Regions from separate parts of the Homo sapiens genome. Here region 1 is linked to region 2. Evidence: promoter capture Hi-C in human tissues and cell types (Jung and others, 2019). All regions are on one chromosome and are shown on one strand. The core of a region is centred on a gene start or on the middle of the fragment in contact, and the rest is flanking DNA. Distances in the headings are between cores, read along the strand shown. Region 1 overlaps NCOR2 (nuclear receptor corepressor 2). Region 2 holds the start of DNAH10OS (dynein axonemal heavy chain 10 opposite strand).

What was found. The method cuts DNA at HindIII sites, captures the fragments that hold promoters and counts their contacts. A contact is called where the count stands out against the background at its distance.
Region 1: a contact is called between a fragment that was not itself captured here and the fragment with the promoter of DNAH10OS in region 2, in 2 of the 25 tissues and cell types used here (heart right ventricle and spleen).

The regions. Positions count from the first base shown.
Region 1 is chr12:124,376,880-124,382,226 of GRCh38, forward strand. It overlaps NCOR2 (nuclear receptor corepressor 2), which reads right to left. Exons shown (of 49, transcript NM_006312.6): 20 at 1,358-1,505. Among named protein-coding and RNA genes, the nearest start is that of MIR6880, 42 kb to the left of the region's middle. RefSeq lists enhancers at 4,711-5,259, 5,260-5,347. The HindIII fragment of the contact is 9,661 bases long and covers 1-5,347 here.
Region 2 is chr12:123,933,698-123,939,345 of GRCh38, forward strand. It overlaps DNAH10OS (dynein axonemal heavy chain 10 opposite strand), which reads right to left and starts at 1,287. Exons shown (of 2, transcript NR_187476.1): 1 at 368-1,287. DNAH10 (dynein axonemal heavy chain 10) reads left to right here. Exons shown (of 79, transcript NM_001372106.1): 78 at 924-1,069; 79 at 1,638-2,017. The coding sequence ends at 1,784. CCDC92 (coiled-coil domain containing 92) reads right to left here. Exons shown (of 5, transcript NM_025140.3): 5 at 1,929-4,133. The coding sequence ends at 3,361. RefSeq lists enhancers at 4,352-4,852, 4,853-5,353. The HindIII fragment of the contact is 2,982 bases long and covers 243-3,224 here.

The DNA of each region.
Region 1 (5,347 bases), core at 160-2,659, 440 kb after region 2:
CCGCCGGGCTGCTTGTTTCTCCTTCAGAGAGTCAGAAAGGAGAGTCAGGGACACTCAGCAGAGAAGGGCTGAGGTCCTCCAGGGGCCTTCGGTCACGCCACAGGGGGAGCAGTCTAGACCCCCAGCTTCCCCTTTGACAGGGAAAAAGAGGCACAGGGTGGGGGTCGAAGGTGGATGCACTCGTGACCGAGAGTGCGGGGCCAGGTGTCGGCAGCCCGTGTTCAGTTCCCGGGTCTATACACACTGATAACAAAGTTGAGCCGTGTGTTATCCGGAGCCCTGGACAACACACAGCTCATGTGGTCACAGTCCTGCATTTGAGGGGACTCGGGGGGACCCACCAGCACCATGCACACGATGGCTTTACGCCCTCTCTTCAGCAGCACTCACCTGGTGGGGCATTTGTCTAGTCTACAGCTGGTGCAAACAACACACTCCGTGGTACCTGGGGCGCCTGGGCCCAGGCCTTTAAGTGCCTGAGCCTCGGTTTCCCCATAGAGAAAACGGGGACACCAAAGAAGGGGACTGAATTATTTATCACTCAAATAGGGACACTTGGGAATAAAAGGAGACACTGAAAATAACTATATAACTTGTACAATATTTACCGACTGACAGATAGGTTCTATTTATGCTGGTTACCTTGTAAAAGAGTTCTGGTCAAAAAACAATTTTCGGGCCTGACGTGGTGACTCACACCTGTAATTCCAGCACTTTGGGAGGCCAAGGTGGGCAGATCACCTGAGGTCAGGAGTTTGAGACCAGCCTGACCAACATGGCGAAACCCCATCTCTGCTAAAAATACAAAAATTAGCCGGGTGTGGCGGCGGGCACCTCTAATCCCAGCTACTCAGGAGGCTGAGGCAGGAGAATTGCTTGAACCCGAGAGGCAGAGGTTACACTGGGCCGTGATCACGTCACTGCACTCCAGCCTGGGCGACAGAGCAAGACTCCGTCTGAAAAAAAAAAAAACAAAAAAAAACTTTTCCAAAGTAAATTTTTTTCTAAACTGTGACATCGGATGGGGTGAAAGACAGCAGGCACCCACAGGGCTGGCCTGGACGTCTGGTCACCCAAGCATAAGACTGGACTCATGGGCATCAGAAGAGCTGAGCGAGGCTTGGGGCTCCCAGAGAAGCTGATTATTCTCAGTATTGTTATGGCCTTCATCCTTGTGCCCATTACTGGTGAGTTTCTGGCAAGTCAGGCCCGCACCTTCCAGGGAGTCGAGGCCCCTTCTAAGGAGGACCCAGATGACTCAGGGGAGAGGAGGCTGCCGGGATCAGTTCCCGCTATGCCCTCCCTCAGAGCTCGGACCCACAGCTGCCAGCCACCTCCAAGCCGCGCCAGCCCTCACCTTCAGCCTCCTCCACCATCTCCTCCTCATTTCCGCTCACGCCCGACGCCTCCATCTCCTCATCCTCCACCACGGGCGGGAATGCAGCCTCCTCGCTGGCCGCCGCCGGCGCTTTCTTCTTCTTCCTCCGCGCGTTCCTCTCCTTCTCCTGGGGCACAGGGAAGCAGCAGATCAGGACTGGGGCCTGGGCTGTCAGCTCGGGGACTCCCCATGCCTGGGGCCTCGCCGCAGGTGCAAAGGGCAGTGATCCCGGCCATGTAGCAATGAGGGTGACCGTCCCCCTCACACCCCACCTCGGCAGCCAAGCGTGCCAGGGTTTATTTTTACCGGGGGCTTTATTCTTCCATTGAGCCCCAGATACACTCTGGGTACAGGCTGGCCCCTCAGCCACCCTGACATCCTTCCTGAGCACGAGAGAACCTGCCTGACATTGCCCAGGAGTCTCCTAGTCAGAGCGAGTGACCACGCCTCCTGGGGACACCCTGTCAGCTTCATCGGCACACGTGGAGTGAATGAACACAGGAAGCTTTTCCTTGCTATGCAAGTCTCACCTGTCCCTGGGGGAACAGGCCAGCCTGGGAAGCTCGCGTTTCATTCCCTGAACCTTTACAGAACACCTACTGTGTGCCCAGCTCTGCATACCAGGGCTGTGGGGACACAAGGCACGGGGTAGACAAGGTCCTGCCCTTGGAGGCTGCCCTGCCGCTGGGGAGACTGGCAACGTGCTCCTCACACAGAAGCAGCACTCAGAGGATCAGAGGGTCGCGTGGGTGAAACAGGATGGGACAAGGAGCACAAGGCAGGGGCTCCTCTGGACAGAACAGTCTGGAAGAGCTTCTGCAAGGAAGTGACATTTGAGCCAAGATTTGACGGCGGAGGGAATGGGCCAGGCCAGGCTCTGGACGAGAGTGGCAGGTGCGGGGAGTCACAGGTGCAAAGGCCCCAGTGTGGGGAACATGCCGGGTGTGTCCAGGAATGGAAAGAAGCCCTCATCGTCGGGCCTCCACTTTCCCCGCACCGCACCCTGCTCCTGGGAACCCCAGCTCCTCACACACAGAGCCCACTCTTCTTCCCCCAGCTTAGGCACCATCATCAAACCACTCGTCTTGGTAGCTCACTGGGGTGGGTGTCTCTTTGTCCCCACGCTGAGCCAGGCAGAGGCTCAGAAAGCGTTTGTTGACTGACTTGCTGAGCAACTGTGAAAGGCCAGCCTTCGTGGGCTTGAACGCATAGACAGCAGAGAGCAGGGGCATCGTGGAGGCAGCATCTCGAAGTGACTGGGGACTCCCAGGGGGACTGGAAAGACACTGGGGGGTGCCCACCACAGCCTGGTGTGACGGGGGGGCGGCAGCCTGATCCCTCTGGGGTTGCTGAGAAAGAGGTGGGCCCTCCGCCACACCTGGAGGTGCCCGCAGCTCTCAGCCAAGAGCCCTGTACTGGGTTGAATGGTGTCCCTCAAAGTTCACATCAACCCGGAACCTCAGACCTTATTTAGAAACGGGATCCTGCATATGTCATTAGTTAAGATGATGCCACACTGGAGTGGGGTGGGCCCTAAATCCAACAGGACTGACAGCCTTGGAAGAAAAGGGAAACACGGATTCAGGGACACGAAGGCCCTGTGGCAGTGGAGGCACATGTGGAGAGATGCAGCTACAAGCCAAAGAATGTCACGAACTGCCAGCAGTCGCTGGAAGACGGAAGAGGCTCCCCTGCAGCCTTGAATGTGAGCACAGCCCTGTGGACGCTTTGGTTCCAGACGTCTAGCCTCCAGAATTGGAAGAGAATACATCTCTGTTGTTTGAAGCCACCGGTCTGTGGTACTTCCTTGCGGCAGCCAGGGGGAATCACACATCCCTCTGCGCTGGTGCACCCGGATTCCAAGAAAAAGCTGCTGACGTCCAGACCACACAGCCTGCTCTCGGGCAAATGCCAGGTGGGCCCCGCCCACCCCAGCCCTTCACCGTGGCCAGGCTGGAGCTGGGCCTCATGGAGGGGAGGAGAGGGGGTCTCGGGCTCCAAGCCCCAGCCACAGGCAGGGAGTGGGATCACTTCCTGTCCTGCCTTCTTCCTGAGCAAACAGGGTTCCTCTGAGCACAGCCCCTTGGAACGCAGGGAGGAAAAGGGAAACGACTGCTCGTCCGTTAGTCACAGTTTCCGACACCAACAGTCGGCCAGAGGGCCACAGCCCTGCCCCTGCCAGTGCCCACAGGGCCCACAGGGATGCCCAGCTCTGCAACCCCGCACACGTCCTGGGCCCAGTCCCAGCCCTGCCCCGAATCCTGAGCCTCTCCCAGGAGAGTTCGAGCCTGTGGCGGCCTGAGAAAGTGGTGGCATGTGGGTTCTGCGGCTGCGGCCGAGGGCTCCCCCTGCTTCCCGAATCTATTTTTGGCAGACAGAGGCTCAGGAAAGACTCAGGGCTGGGTGCCCTGAGCTGCCCGGGCGGTGGCTGGGACATGGGAGATGCTCAGAGTCTCGCAGGGAACAGGGGTCTCCTGTCGGCCTGGTGGTGGCGCCCAGCATCCTGGAGTGCAAGGTGTCTCTGCGGGGGGCGGCGTGGGGTCTCTGAGGCAGTGGACGGGGATGGTGCCAACACCCTGAATCCCCACAAAGCTGGGTCTCAGAGAGAGTCCCAGGAGTTACAGTTAATCCTTACACACATGGTCCGGCACTGTGGGATCAGGAGGTGTGTGTAGAATAGGAGATGCTAGTGATGGCATTAATCATTATGCCTGACGTTTATTAAGCACCTACTATGCGCCAAGCGGTTTCTGGTATTAATTTACTGGACCTGCACAGCTGCTCTGCAAATCAGCGCATGCCACCCCCTGCTTCAAACTCTCCAACACCTGGATACAATCCCCAAGTCCTCCCCCTATCCATATGGCCCTGTGTGATCCAGCCCTGGACCCTGCCTGCCTCTCCAAGCTGCTCTCCCCTCTCCCCTCCTCAGAGACTGTGCTACAAACACACTGCCCTCCCTGCTCGCTGCCCCAGCCACAGGGCCTCTACACTGGCTGTTCCCCTGCCTGGACACCCTTCCCCTAGATATCTGCATAACTCACTTCCTCACCTCCTTCGGGCCTTAGCTCAGACATCAGAGAGGTCTTCCCTGATCACTCCATCATTAGCTCATCCCTCCCACCCCCACCATCAATCACTTTCTACTACATTCTTCTCATAGCATCTTCAGACTCCATTCTGAAATTGAGTGTGTGAACCTGTCTCTCGCACCAGCTCCTCAAGGGCTGGGATCTTTGTTCTCTGCTGTATTCCCACCATACCTGGAACAGTGTCTAGCACAGAACAGACGCTCTGTAACTATGTCTTTAGATGAATGAACCTGATAGACAGTGACAATGGCTCAGAGAGGCAAAGACACTTGCCCAAGACCACACAGCTCATGAGTTGAGGAGCTCAGATTTGAATGCAGGCCAGCTTCAAACATTTCGTGGCTGGACCATCTCTCTGCAGGCCTGTGCAGCCTCAGGTAGAAGAGATTAACAGCAGAAAACAAGGCGGGGCTGGGCCAAGGCTGAGGCGGACAGAGACTGAGGAACGTGGAAGCCGAGCCCCAGGGGCCTGAATTCACAGATGGGAGAAAAGGGTAACCTTCGGCCATAAGGAGGGGGAGGGAAACCTCGTAGAAGACACTGATGCCAAGTGTTACATAACTCCGGGACATGCCCCGCCCGCCCGGCCGCCGGATCCTGCTTCCTGCTGACGTCGCCTGCGGCCACACTCGGGCCAGACCTAGTGCAAGGCGGGAGGGGACACCCACTGACCCTCTGCTTCCCCACTCCTTCCTTCTCTGGCCAAGGGTGACATGTCTTCCTGTACTCCAGACAGGGCTGGGCCAGCAGCCAGAGGTGGCTGATACTGCGTTAGGATTCACTGGGATATGCCCTCCTCCCTGGGACTGAAAGGCACAGGGGAGGGGCAGGAGGTGGAGGTCACCAGGTTCAGCGGCACCTCTCCTGGTGAGACCTG
Region 2 (5,648 bases), core at 37-2,536:
CGGAAGTTTCTCTTCCACTTTCTCCGTTGAGACCTGGGGTCTATGGCAGGGGAGACCTGAACCATGTTCACTCTGCTAGCTCATGGCAAGTGGGCTCCTAGGTCAGAATTAGCTCTTGCAAAAACCATCAGGTGGCTTTCTTGTAACCCCTGACGGGGCCAGGGGCATGGGAGCCACAGAGCAGCATGGACTAACTTGGTTGGAACTCTTTGATTATGCCAGAACTTCAGGTCCCTTAGACATTGGTTACTGACTGTGCAAATGAGAGCTGGAAACTGCTGTTTCCCCGGGTCCATGTTGTCTTAGAGTTCTTTTAACTGCAAGGAACAAAAGCTCTTTTGAGATGGCTTAAGGACTGGGGACTTACGGTAAAGATGCAGGGACTCTCCAGGTCTCAGTGGCAGGGGAGGTGGCAGGTGTCCGGGCCACCACTCTCTCTGGGGCCACAGGAGTGTGTTCCTCTCTTTGCACATCTGCTGGGTCCTCCTCCCCGGAGACCACTTTCTCTGTGAGGCTTCGACTTCCTGCTCCCCAGCCACTTCGGCTCACAGGGTAGCTGGGGTTGCCATGGTGCCCATTCTGACTCTGGGACCATGCATCTTTCTAGCCTGGGGGCCCAGGGTGGTCTAAGTCCGTGGGCCTTGATGCCCCAGGAATGAGGATTCCTGGGGGAGAGGCCACCGCCCCACACCCATTTCTCTGGGCCATGGGGCAGGGCCACAGGGTCTCCTGTCTGGGCTGCTCCTCCACAGAGGGAAGGTGGGCAGGACAGAAATGCTGGAGAAGGGCCTGGGCTGTCCCCAATGCGCTGGGGAGGAGGCCAGCCAGTGGCCTGTGTGTCGCTGTGTGTGCGCCTGATAGAGCCACTCCGTGGCAGGCTGTGCATGCTCCAGTTGTATCCAGTCTCTGCCTTGTGTCCCTAGGATGCTTTGTCTCAGGACTGTACCTGGAAGGTGCTGACTGGGATATAGAAAAAGGATGTCTTATCAAGAGCAAACCCAAGGTGCTGGTTGTGGACCTGCCGATCCTGAAGATCATCCCCATTGAAGCCCATCGCCTCAAGCTGCAGGTGAAGGTCCCAGCCCCTCCTCTCTGACACCAGGGCCCTTCCTCTTCTGACTGTAGTTATGGCTGAGGTGGTTTCCAACAGTCCTACTTTTTAAAACAGGGGTGCCTAAGCTTTATGGGCTGGGGAGAGTCTTGGAGCCGTGATAAAAGCTACGGATAGCTGCTTCCTGGAAAAGGCGCGGCTGTATGTGTGTGTGGATGCCGGTCCTTCCAGAGGTGTCAGGCTCAAGCTGTGATCCTGTGGTCTAGACTAACCAAGGGGAGACTCCCTCCCTTCTTGCAAAATGCTGCAGACATTGCCTGAGTCATAAAGTGGTTCCCGCTGGTGTGGACAGCAGATGTCTTCTGCTCTGCCTGGGCCAGGACCCACTTTTAACCAGGGTGTCAGTGTGAAGCCAGGTCCCCGTGAAGCTGGCGGAGGGTGGCCCTGAGCAGCCCCAGCCTTGTGCGTGTTCTCAGGTGCAGTCTTGCACAGGGGCCCCTGCCTGTCAAGACTTACACTGCACCTCTGCCTTTATCCCTCTGCACCCTCTCTCCGTGGGGGCATCTCACCTGCCTTTCCCTTGCAGAATACTTTCCGGACCCCCGTCTACACCACCTCCATGAGAAGGAACGCCATGGGAGTCGGCTTGGTTTTTGAAGCTGATCTCTTTACCACGAGGCACATTTCTCACTGGGTGCTGCAAGGAGTATGCCTCACCCTGAATTCTGATTAACCTTTGGGTGAAGAAAACTGCTTAATGAATTCGGAGCCTGGGGTTGTCAGAGTGATCGGGTCTGCTGTCATTTCTTGGGGCCTCTCAAGAGGCAGGAGGGGGACTGACACTGATTTTTCATTTGAAATCAGCCACTTAAATCTCTTTCCATACAAATTAACCTGAATGGTTTTGTTTTTAATACTACTTTTTAAAAGGAATTTATATAATCAAAAAGTAAATATTGGAGAGTATTTTAAGATGTGTGGAGTTTTCTTTTCCTTCTCAGAGAAAACACTTGATTAGGCAAAAGTGCCTGGCATACATAGCATTGGCACAAGTGAGAATCCTAATGTAATTTCCAAAGGTGTGTTTTCGATGATCCAGGTCTGTTTCAGCAGATGCTCCTTTTTGGCAAGAAGGGCTGATGATGTCGGGCACAGAGCAGAAGTGACCAGTCACCTGGAGCCACTTCTCCCCCTTCCAGAACTCTCTGGCCCTAGCTTCTTTGGCTCTGACCTGCTACGGCGACTGTGAAGTTGTTGAGCTTAGTGTTTAGTTCCTGCATGAGCTTCTACCCCCAGCCTGCCTGGGTCTGTGTGGGGTCAGGTAAGGACACAGAACCTCCAGGACCAGTGGTCACTGGGCACCCCTTCCCTCTGTGCACCATGAGGCTGGCCTGGAGCCCTGGCTGGCCACCTGGAGGTGAGGGGTGGCTTCACTCCATGAGGGAGGAGAGGGGCTAGCACGGGCAGCACAGTGGGCAGGGGCCATCAGAGGCAAAAGCAGCTTCCCACAGAAGCTCAGGAGCGCAGCACATTCTAAGGACTAGCTCTGGGCCGGGAGGAGGCCGGAGTCGCTTCTGGGACCTGTGATTGCTCTCCCTCCTGCAGTCTCCTAGCCCTCCTTCAGGTGTTTGTTTAATAAAAGACACAAAACAGAAGGAAGGCAGGTTTAGAAAATAAAGTTTGTTGGGATCTTAAACATTTTGGATAAAACTAACAAAAAAATATGAACACACATTCAGGTTGTGGTGCTATGAGGAGTAGCGTCATCTTATTTAGTTCCTTGAGATACACGCACGGCTGCTCGGTGATCGGTGCCGCCCTGGGAAAGGTTGGTCAGGAGGTGACAGGGGTCTCCAGGAGGAGCTCGGGAGGTGACAAGGGTCTCCAGGAGGGAGCAGGGGCTGCTCGGCCAGGCTGCCCTGGAGCTTGAGGATAAGGTCAAGGTTGGTATGTGTTGCTCCGACTTGAGAATGAATTAGGTGTGTGACTGTGTGGCATCGTGAACATCAGTAGTGACGCAGCCGTGGCCTGGGCTTTGCCTGCAGCGCACTTAGGTTACACGGAGCGGGATCAGAAGCAAGCGATTCGGCACACAGGCGTTTGGCCACAGCAATTAGGAAATACATATTCTGCGGCAGGGACACGATCATATTTTGGTGTGAAGAAGAGGGCAAGAGAAGCAGAAGGAGAATGGGTCGGTAGGTGTGAAAAGTGTTTGGCATGCATGGGATTAAACAGAAAAGGTGTGGCTGAGATTTCCCAGTGGTGCTCACAGTGCATGGACAGCGCGGGGTGGGGCACGGCGGGCTTCACACAGTTCTGTCCGTCCCTGAGTGCTTCCTCACCACCTTGCCTCCGTTCACCTGGTCGACCGCCAGGGTCTTCACCTCGGGCTGGGCCTGCGGCGGGGTGGCGTGGTGGATCCGATGTGCCACCCCGACGTGGGCCTTGTGCGGCTTTTCGCGGGCCGGGCTGTGCTGCTCGCCGCTTCGGTCGGAGGCGATGGGGGGGATGACGAGGGGCCTCTCTTTGATGAGGTGGACCTCGGCGGACTCCCTAGCCAGCAGAAATGGGGTGGGGTCGGGCATAGCATCCACTGGTTCCCGCAAAAGGAGTTTCCTGCTCTCTGCCCCGAATCTGTAGACCTCTTCAAATTCCGGGTGCAAGGGGGCTGAGAGGCTCTTTTTCATGCGGCGGCGAGGCGTTTCGGGTAGCTTGTCTTTGGGGGGCGCTGGCTTGTAGCTGGCCAGCACGGGGCTCCCTGACGGGCTGGCATCTGAGGTCCCGCTGGAGCTCATGAGCTTCTTCTTGGCGGCGTGCAGCTGGGAGGTCAGGTAGGCGATGGTGCTGGCCCGCTGCTCCAGCTCGCTAGACAGCAGGGTCAGCTTGTGACTCTTGGCCTTCAGCTCCTCCAGGTACTTCTTCTCTCGCTCCTTGATGGTGTTCTCCAGCACTGTGATCATCGCGTTTTTCTGCTCCAGTTCTTTCAACAACTCAGCATTTTCGTTCTCTTTCACTTTCAGTTGGGCTTCCAGCTCTTCACATCTTTTCTTTAATTCACTGCTTTTAGAAGTCCCGTCTCCTACAAGAATAAGCCGAGGAAGCAGGTGAAGAACTCATTAGACTGAGGCCGAGTGGTGAGGCCTATGGGGCAGGCGGACCTGTCTGGTGGGGGCCCTGTCTAGGCTGTGGGGGCCATGCAGAAGGCAGGGCTGTGGGGGCTCTGGAAAGACCCCTCCCCTCCCCGAGGTGGGGAGATCGGGGCATCTCAGAGGCCCTTTCCGGCTCTTAGTTCTCTGGCCTACTGCATAAAAGAATGTCTCTGAACCTTAAAGATGCTGAACTTAAAACAGGCAATTGCAGAGTATCAGACCTCAGCAAACACTTAGGATTCAACTGGCCGCAAATCCCTCTGTCTGCTCAGATGGCATTTATGGAATGCCTGCTACATTCAAAGTACTGTTTTGAAACTCAAATGTAAAAAGAATTATCCATGTCTATTGAATTAAAATTCTGATGTTTAGAGGAGAAGAGGTGTGGGGCTGTCACCTTTGCTCTGCCGCTGGCCGCCTCTCTCACCCCCCTACCCCCGTCTCTCTCACACACACACACACACAGACTCTTTCCCACTTCCTGCTCAGAGAGTGAGCTGTCTCGCCTCTGTGGCTCTTACCCTTGGTCCCTCCCTGCCCCTGCCCTAACACTTCGGGCCTCTGCCTCCTTTTGCTGTCCCTGGGTGCCTGCCCTCACCCAGTCCTTCAGCAAACACCAGCCACCTCCTTCTCCTGCTCTTCTGGTGACCTGCAGTCCCTGGTCACCTCACATAGCACCCTTGGCTCTAAACCCTGGGTCACCATCCTACTCCTCCTAACGCTGGCTGGCTGGCCATCCTCCTTGCCTGGCCCCTGGGAAGTTCTTTCTAGACTCTTCCTTGCTGGTCTGGAATTCAACTTGAGCATCAGCTCCCGATTCAGTGTCTCCTGAGCACCACTTCTCCAAGTGAGTGTCCGTCAGACACACCCTCAAGTCCAGATAGCTGCTCTGCTTCCCACATCTTGACTCTCCCAGGGAAACTGGATGCAGTCGCCATCCCTGGCCTCCCCTCCCTGACTGTGCCTTTCTGCTGGCTGCTCAGTGCTGCCCCCTCCCTGCTCCTCCAGCCGGCCTTGGTCCCACCTCCTCTCTGGTCTTCGTTTCAGCCCATCCTGTATTTAGGAAGCTTGGTCACCCCCTAAATATTCTTGTCCTCTGTTCAAAATGGTTCCTCACTGCCTAATAAAACCCAAACTGCCAGATGCCTTCCAGTTCCTCAATCTGTCCTGAATGTTATCTGCTCCCACATAAATCAAAGCTTCCATCACTCTCCCCAAGCCACCACCTCTTGTTCTGTCTCTATTGTACCCTCTGTCCTTGCCCTAACTCCAGACCTGCACGCCCAGTTTCCCTGTACCAACTCCACCACCCAGGGCCTGCCTAGGCACTGGACGCCACTGGACGTCTTTCCCGGGCTTCTGTCTGTCTTGCTTTGAATTTTCCCACCTGCCTGAGCTAGCAGCAGCTCTGCAGCATGTCCCGCCGCCAGACTCTGAGCTTTTGA